Regions from separate parts of the Homo sapiens genome. Here regions 1 and 3 are each linked to region 2. The links are contacts of gene promoters, found by promoter capture Hi-C in human tissues and cell types (Jung and others, 2019). All regions are on one chromosome and are shown on one strand. Each heading gives the region's core, a stretch centred on a gene start or on the middle of the fragment in contact. The rest is flanking DNA. Distances are from core to core; before and after follow the strand shown.

The links. Contacts are between HindIII fragments. The study calls those that stand out against the background at their distance.
Region 1: a fragment that was not itself captured here is called in contact with the fragment with the promoter of RAB3B in region 2 in 5 of the 25 tissues and cell types used here (IMR-90 fibroblasts, lymphoblastoid cells, mesendoderm cells and 2 more).
Region 3: a fragment that was not itself captured here is called in contact with the fragment with the promoter of RAB3B in region 2 in 2 of the 25 tissues and cell types used here (ovary and thymus).

The regions. Positions count from the first base shown.
Region 1 is chr1:51,871,827-51,874,786 of GRCh38, forward strand. All of the region lies in intron 1 of NRDC (nardilysin convertase), which reads right to left. Among named protein-coding and RNA genes, the nearest start is that of NRDC, 5.4 kb to the right of the region's middle. The HindIII fragment of the contact is 5,458 bases long and covers 1-2,960 here.
Region 2 is chr1:51,989,228-51,992,045 of GRCh38, forward strand. It overlaps RAB3B (RAB3B, member RAS oncogene family), which reads right to left and starts at 1,473. Exons shown (of 5, transcript NM_002867.4): 1 at 1,325-1,473. RefSeq lists a silencer at 1,387-1,496. The HindIII fragment of the contact is 14,307 bases long and covers 45-2,818 here.
Region 3 is chr1:52,060,436-52,063,261 of GRCh38, forward strand. All of the region lies in intron 2 of BTF3L4 (basic transcription factor 3 like 4), which reads left to right. Among named protein-coding and RNA genes, the nearest start is that of BTF3L4, 5.6 kb to the left of the region's middle. The HindIII fragment of the contact is 4,475 bases long and covers 1-2,826 here.

The sequences.
Region 1 (2,960 bases), core at 451-2,950, 120 kb before region 2:
GCTTTTACCATCATTCAGTTCTTTAAAAACAGGGCGTTTTTGTTTGTTTTTTGGTTTTCTTTTTGAGACAGTCTGGTTCTGTTGCCCAGCCTAGAGTGCAGTGGGCGCGATCTTGACTCACTGCAACCTCTGCCTCCCGGGTTCAAGCGATTCTCCTGCCTCAGCCTCCCCAGTATCTGGGATTACAGGCATCCGCCACCACACCCAGCTAATTTTTGTATTTTAGTAGAGACAGGGTTTCACCATGTTGGCCAGGTAGGTCTCCAACTCCTGACCTCACGTGATCCACCAGCCTCAGCCTCCCAAAGTGCTGGGATTACAGGCGTGAGCCACGGCGCCCAGTCAGAAAAACAGAGAGTTTTTTGTTCTGGTTTTGTTTTTTTGAGACAGAGGCAGGTGATCTTCCTGCCTTGGCCGCCCAAAGTGCTAGGATTACAGGTGTGAGCTACTGCACCTGGCCAACAGAGAGCTTTTTAATGCTAAATCTTATTTTCCTAAAACACACAGACATACACACACACACACAACTTCAGTTAGAAACAATATACACTCTTTCTATTCTTACTAGCCCATCAGCCCACTTTAAAGAAATCAGTCAGGCCCGGTGCAGTGGCTCATGCCAGTACTCCCAGCACTTTGGGAGGCCAAGGTGGGCTGATTGAGCTCAGGAGTTTGAGACTAGCCTGGGCAACAGAGCGAAACCCAACTCTACAAAAAAGGACAAAAATTAGCTGGGCATGATGGTGTGCACATGTAGTCCCAGCTACTTAGGAGGCCAAGGTGGGGAGGATGGCTTGAACCTGGGAGGTGGAGGCTGCAGTGAGTTGAGATCACACCACTGCACTCCAGCCTGGGTGACAGACCCAGACTGTCTCAAACACAAAACAAAACAAAATAAGGAAATCAGTCTAAGGAATAGTAAGAGACAAAAGATATGTTTATTAAAGTTATACTAGTATTCATAAGATTTAACATATTTCAATCTTAAAAGCACTTACTTTGTTAAATGAGTTTGAATCTCGTGAAGTAATACCTAGGTTACCTTTACTTTACAAGACAAGTGAGAGTGCAAAACAAAAAGAAATTTGGATTCACTTGTTCATTTGTTATCAGACTAAGGAATTGTCAATCTCATGGAATTTACACACATGGAAGTCATAATGATTTCTTTTGTAGCTGTGAGATTTTGTGATCATTTTAGCAATATTTGTGTGTCTGTGTGTGTGTGAAATGAAACACACACAAATGAAATTACTGGCTCATGTATTGAATGAAGCATTACGGTTCCAGGAGTTTTCATTGTAAATATCAACAAATAAACCTATGTTCTTCCCATCCAATACAAAAAAAAAAGTTCTCTTGTTTTCTGGTGTATAGTTTTCTTCTGATACCTCAGATTTGTATAAGGCTTCTGCTCAGTATACGTGCTGCCAAAGTGAGCAAAAGGCTTCTGCTCAGAAGTGAGCCACTTCACTAGCAAACTATTCAGGAAGCCAACAAATGTTAGTGTTCTCAATGCAACTGTTCCACTCACTGGAATTGTGATCCTCCTCCTGTTCCACAGCATATAATAGTAAACAACATAATATTCAGAAATAGCCTGTACCTTATTCAGCACACACCCACCCATTATTTTCTATAATATATGGAATTTTTATTTATTTATTTATTTATTTATTTATTTATTTATTTATTTATGTTTGAGACAGAGTCTTGCTCTGTTGCCCAGGCTGGAATGCAGTAGCACAATTTCAGCTCACTGCAACCTCTGCCTCCCAAGTTCAAGCGATTCCCCTGCCTCTGCCTCCCAAGTAGTTGGGATTACAAGCACCTGCCACTACAACTGGCTAATTTTTTTATTTTTAGTAGCGACAGGGTTTCACCATGTTGGCCAGGCTGGTCTTGAACTCCTGACCTCAGATGATCCACCCACCTCCGCCTCCCAAAGTGCTGGGATTACAGGCGTGAGCCCCCACGCCCAGCCTGAAAATTTATTAAGATAACCATCTCCTCACTTGTAACAGTCTGACCAAAATTTAAATTAGAAGGACTTGCCCTTCAGAAGTTTATATGCCTTTTCGACAGGGCGTGGTAGCTCACACCTGTAATCCCAGCACTTTGAGAGGCAGAGGCAGGCAGATCTCTTGAGGTCAGGAGTTCGAGACCAGCCTGGGCAACTTGGTGAGACACCTGCCCCCACCACCACCTCCATTTCTACAAAAAATTAGCCGGACATGGTGGGGCAGGTTGTGATGGTGCCTCTGTACTCCAGCCTGGGCGATGAATTGAAATCCTGTCTCAAAATTTTTTTTAATCATTAAAAAAAAAAAAAAAGAAGTTTACATACCTTTTCATTTGTTCTTTCCTTCTCCATAGAAATACAGGTCTTTTTACGAGCAGGTTAAACATGGAAAGTGCTCTGTACTTGTTTTAGTCAATCCAAAATACCTAACGTTAAGTGTTCTTCATTGTTAAAATTTACTATTCAGAATGCACCACAGCCAGGCCAGGTGCAGTGGCTCACCTGTGCCTGTAATCCCAGCACTATGGGAGGCCAAGGAGGGCAGATCATCTGAGGTCAGGAGTTTGAGACCAGCCTAGGCAAAATGGCGAAATCTCATCTCTACAAAAGCTTAGCTGGGCATGATGGCACGTGCCTGTAGTCCCAGCTACTGGAGAGCCTGAGGTGGAAGGATCACCTAAGCCTGGGAGGTCGAGGCTGCAGTGAGCCGTGATGGCGCCACTGCACTCCAGCCTGGGTTACAAAGTGAGACCCTGCCTCAAAAATAAAAATAAAAATAAAAAATAAATAGAATACACCACTACTAATCCTGCCCAACCAGAATTTCCACTCAACACCAATAAAAATTTGAATATCAATTCCCAACCTGAAGTCCCTTAACCCTTCCAGAAGGGAAGGGAATCAATACTTGGTAAGCATTTAATACAGATCCCTAAAA
Region 2 (2,818 bases), core at 223-2,722:
GTGTGTGTGTGTGTGTGTGTGTGTGTGTGTTTTGAGGGCCCATCTTTCTCCCACCTCCTCCACATCTCTCTTAGCTTCCAAAGGCTGCTGCCCTGCCCTCCCCAAAGTTGCTTCCATGCTTGGACTACAGAACAGAGTTGGATGACTTTTTCTGTCCACGATTCTCTTATTTTCTGTGATCCCCGGTGCCCGTGTAACAAGGTCCAGTGCCTGGGTCCCCTCCTTGGACTCCTGAGTGGCCGAGACACCGCTAGTGCGTGGACACCACTCCAGCCCCCATTACCTTTCCACCCTTACACCACGACCCACACCTGGCCTCCTCCCCAGGCTGACCCAGCGCCCCACCACCCTATCTATACACTCCAAGTTCTCCCACGATTCCTCCACTTGCAGCCGCCAGACCCTACTCTATTCCAGAGCCTCCTCTCCACTCCTGACCAGAATGTAGGCCCCTGTGTCCATTTCCAAGGCCACTTCCCTGTGTCTCCACCGGCTCCCTGCCCCCTTCCTCTGCAGCAGGGTAGACCCAACCTGGCCTCTCACCCTTCCATTCTCCCAAGCTTCCCGCCCCCAAGCCCCACCCCTCGTCTTCCATCTACAGTTACCCCCACGCCGGTCCCCAGCCGGGCTCAACCTCCGACCCCAGCTATCCATACCCACATCCCCCATAAATGACCCTCTTTCGACCAGACACTGCCCTGCTGCCTTTCTCCTTCCCAGCTATCCATACCCACATCCCCACCCCCGACCCTCTCCCAACCAGACACTCCCCAGCTGCCCAGCGCCCCTTGCCCTCGGCACCTCAGTCCCCTCCAGCTCCAAACGACCCCCGCCCAGCCAGTCCCCTCCCCTCAGCTCCTCACCTCCATGCCTCCCCCCGCACCCCCGCTCTAGCTCCCCTCAGTCCGCTCCCTTCACCGCCCCCTTCGCTGCCCCTCGGCTGCCCGGTACCACCTTTCCGCACAGCCCCACTCCGCCCTCCTCGCAGCTCCCCCGCCCCCCACGCCCCCGTTTCCCCCAGCGATCCCTCACTGCCCTCCAGTTGCCCCCCATCTCTCCTCCCAGCCCCAGCGCCGTCTTTCTTGCTCCCCTCCCGCCCTTGGAGCTCCCCCGGCTGCCCCCAACGTCTGGGAGACCCCCTCGGCGCCCCCTCCCTAGGTGAGCCCCACCTCTGCCGCCGCGGAGCCCCCTCCCTCGCTCCTCCCCCGGCTTCCTTCCGCTGCCCCGCGCTCCTTCTCGGCGCCCGCTCTCGGTGCCCAGCGCCCCGCGCCGGGGATCGGTCCCTGATCCTCCGCGGGCGGGCTGCCGGGGCCGCGCCCCTTACCGCGGACTCCGAGTGCGGGACGACGGGTTCGCTCCCGGACGGTCGGCGGGACGGCAGGACCTGGCGTCGGGAGGGCGCGGAGGGGGCCGGGGCGGGGCGCTGCGGGATGGTCTGGTCCGGTCAGGTCCTCACAGTGGCGCCTGAGGGCTGAGGCTCCCGCTCCAGCACTGCTCCGCTCCGGCCGCATCCAGGCCCCGCCCAAGGGCGGAGTCTGTGTTCGCCCCGCCCCGGCCCTCAACTCCTAGCAGGTGTAATCCGAGGTGACTCAGGACCTCCAGGTCCCCCATGTCTGGGTGACTCTCGTGATTTATCTTAATTGTCATGCCTCGTTCCATTGACTGAACTTACTAGGGTAATTAGAGAGCTTTGATGATAATGTAGCTGATGATGGGTAGCAGTTTTGCCATTTCCAAACTGCTTTCTGGTCCGGTCCGTTCTATGGCTCCGTCTTCACAAAAGCCCAGAGAGGGAGGCTGACTACAAGCGGAAACCAAGCCAGAAACCTGGACGCTGTCCTCTACCCTATCTGTGTTTCCTTCACACCCCACATCCCACCGCCTTAACATATCCCTGCCCTTCCTCTGTGTCTCCATTGCCCTTGTTCTGACTCCAGCATCATCACTTCTTGCTTGGACTAATGCAACAGCTTCCTAATTCCTGCCTTCACTCTCCAATTCACCCTATAAAACCAGGACGTGGTGTCAGCATGGCCATTTCCACCCTTGTACAAAAATTCTTTCTCCTGTGGTCTCCAGTCATACCACCCTCCACCCCTCCTCATCACTGACACCCAATTGTTCCTTATGCATTAAAGATTGCAGCCCCTGGCCCATGGTCATCCTAACTAGCCCCTGTTCTGCCATACTCCTGGTGACTTCGGTAGCTGTGAGACTTCCTGGTCCCATTCATTCTGAGTCAGATACCAAAATCATTTTGACACAAGCCCGAGCAACCCTTTAAAAAATGTCACCATGTTACCATCAACCTTGTTTAAGAAAACTCTCGGCCAGGCACAGTGGCTGACGCCTGTAATCCCAGCACTTTGGAAGGCCAAAGTGGGCAGATCACTTGAGGTCAGGAGTTCGAGACCAACCTGGCCAACATGGTGAAACCCTGTCTCTACTAAAAATACAAAAATTAGCCGGGCATGGTGGTGCATGCCTGTAGTCCCAGCTACTTGGGAGGCTGAGGCAGAATTGCTTGCACCCAGGAGGCAGAGGTTGCAGTGAGCCGAGATCACTGCACTCCAGCAGTGCACTCCAGCCTGGGCAACAAAGCCAGACTCCATCAAAAACCAAACAAACAAACAAACAAAAACCTCTCAATGGTTTCCCATTACCAGGAGGCTGTCAACAGGAGTAGAAAAATGTTCTTGCCTGGCCTGGCCCTAGGAAGTCCCACTTCCACTAGAGGAGGCAGATAGAGGAGGCAATAAATACCCCACCCTCAAATCCTGATATGGACTTCCAGTCTTCCTGAGGTCACAGGAGCCAG
Region 3 (2,826 bases), core at 164-2,663, 71 kb after region 2:
CACAAATTCTTACCTGTTCTTCCATGTTGGTGAATATGAATATCAGCTTTCTTATTCCCTGTACTTTTTAAAGCCTAAGGAAGAACTAGTTGTGAGCAACTGAAGTCTTTGATTCTCTTCAGCTGTGGCACCAGGCTCAAGGAGAATATTCTACCCATATCTCTGCCCAACACAATCTTTGCAAAAGTGAAAGAAAGAATAGTACTTACCTCAGACCTGAAGTGGTAGGTAGGACACTACTTTTTGTAGTGGGTCCCACTGTGTCATTTACACTGATGATAACCACAGTTCCTGGGGATGAGCACAAGGGAAGGGAAGGGAAGAAGAGCCAGTACTTTCTCCTTCTCCCACAGTGATACAGTTATATGAGTCTGGAGTTAGAATAACACACTCATGTAACCACAGTAGTCACATTGTAGCATCAAGTGTGATGTGATGTGCCAATGCAGAAACTAGGGATATTCAAGAACCATAGAATATACCTAGAAGAGCTTGATGTACCACATCGCCATTGTGTATTTTAAAACTGTGGTTGGTACATTCGATTTAGCTGTTGTATATTGAGCACCTACTGTGTGCCAGCACATAGAAGATAAACAAGATCACAGCTCTGCTTGGGAGAGAGATGCTCACAATTATAACGCAGAATAGTGAGTGTTATAATGAAGTACAAGGTACTCTTGCCTAGTGGAGACAAGGAAGTTATCACTGAGCTCTTGTTTAAAGGATAAACAATTTATCACTAGGCGAAAAGGTAATGGCTGGCAGAAAGGTAATGGGTGGTGGCTCACGCCTGTAATCCCAGCACTTCGGGAGGCTGAGGTGGGTGGATCAGTTGAGGTCAGGAGTTCAAGACCAGCCTAGCCAACATGGTGAAACCCTGTCTCCACTAAAAGTACAAAAATAGCCTGGTGTGGTGGCGCATACGTGTAGTCCCAGCTACTTGGGAGGCTGAGGCAGGAGAATCACTTGAACCCGGGAGGTGGAAGTTGCGGTGAGCCAAGATTGCACCACTGCACTCCAGCCTGGGCAACAGAGCAAGACTCCGTCTCAAAAAAAAAAAAAAAAAAAGAAATAGGTAAGAGGGTTCATGAGATAGAGTAAAAAGGGTTGTCATTTCCATACTTGCAAAGGCACATATGGTGCTAAGATAACACAGTACTTAATGGAATGGCTTGCTTTAATATGGTACAGCTATTCTTTTTTTTTTTTTTTTTTTTTTGAGACGGAGTTTTGGTCTTGTTGCCCAGGCTGGAGTTCAATGGCACGATCTCAGCTCACTGCAACCTCCGCCTCCTGGATTCAGGCAATTCTCCTGCCTCAGTCTCCTGAGTAGCTGGGATTACAGGCATATGCCACCATGCCCAGCTGAATTTTTGTATTTTTAGTAGAGATGGAGTTTCTTCATGTTGGTCAGGATGATCTTGAACTCCTGACCTCAGGTGATCTGCCCATCTCGGCCTCCCAAAGTGCTGGGATTACAGGCGTGAGCCACCGTGCCCGGCCTCTTTTTTTTTTTAAGATGGAATCTCTCTCTGTCGCCCAGGCTGTAGTGCAGTGGCGCAATCTCAGCTCACTGCAATCTCCGCCTCCCAGGTTCATGTCATTCTCCTGCCTCAGCCTCCCAAGTATCTGGGACTATAGGCACCCGCCAGCATGCCCGGCTAATTTTTTGTATTTTTTTCAGTAGACACAGAGTTTCACCATGTTAGCCAGGATGGTCTTGCTTGATCTCCTGACCTCGTGATCGCCCGCCTCGGCCTTTTTTTTTTTTTTTTTTTTTTGAGACGGAGTCTCACTCTGTCACCCAGGCTGGAGTGCAGTGGCGTGATCTCGGCTCACTGCAACCTCCACCTCCTGGGTTCAAGCGATTCTCCTGCCTCAGCCTCCTGAGTAGCTGGGATTACAGGCACGCGCCACCACGCCTGGCTAATTTTTGTATTTTTAGTAGAGACTTGGTTTCACCATGTTTGTCAGGCTGGTCTCAAACTCCTGACCTTATGATCTGCCCGCCTCAGCCTCCCAAAGTGCTAGGATTACAGGTGTGAGCCACCGCGCTCGGCCGGTACAGCTGTTCTTTAGTGTACGTAATGGATAGAGAATGGCAGGAAATGAAATGACCAGGTAGTTTGGGATTCCATTATACTTTTATATGCCATACTAAGGAGCTTGGAGTTTTATCCTATAGGCAGTGGGCAACTATTAAAGGATTTTAAGAAGGAAATGACTGCCATTTTAGAAAGGTAGCTGCTGGCGTTGTGGAAAATGGAACAAAATGGAAGTTTGGCCTATAGGCGAACAATTGAGACGCTATTGCTAGAGTCTAAGGCAGCAGTCCGCAATCTTTTTGGCACCAGGGACTGGTTTCGTGGAAGACAGTTTTTCCACGGATGGGAGGATGATGGTTTTGGGATAAAACTGTTCCACCTTAGATCATCAGGCATTAGTTAGATTCTCATGAGGAGTGCGCATCCTAGTTTCCTCGCATACGCAGCTCACAACGGTTCGCCCTCCTATGAGAATCTAATGCTGCCGCTGATCTGACTGGCTGTGGAGCCCAAGCAGTAATGCTCGCTCATGCCCCCTACCCCACCTTCTGCTGTGCTGCCGTGTTCCTAACAGGTCACAGACTGGTACTGGTCAGTGGCCTGGGGGTTGGGGACCTCTATTATATGGGATACAAATTTAGGAGTTGGAATTGACACGATTTAGTGACTGATGGGATATGGGGGGTAAAGGGCATGCAGAAGAATCTAGGATAACCCTCAGATTCATGATTTTAGAGACTTGAGTATATGGTGGTACCACCAGCTACAAAAGTTAGGA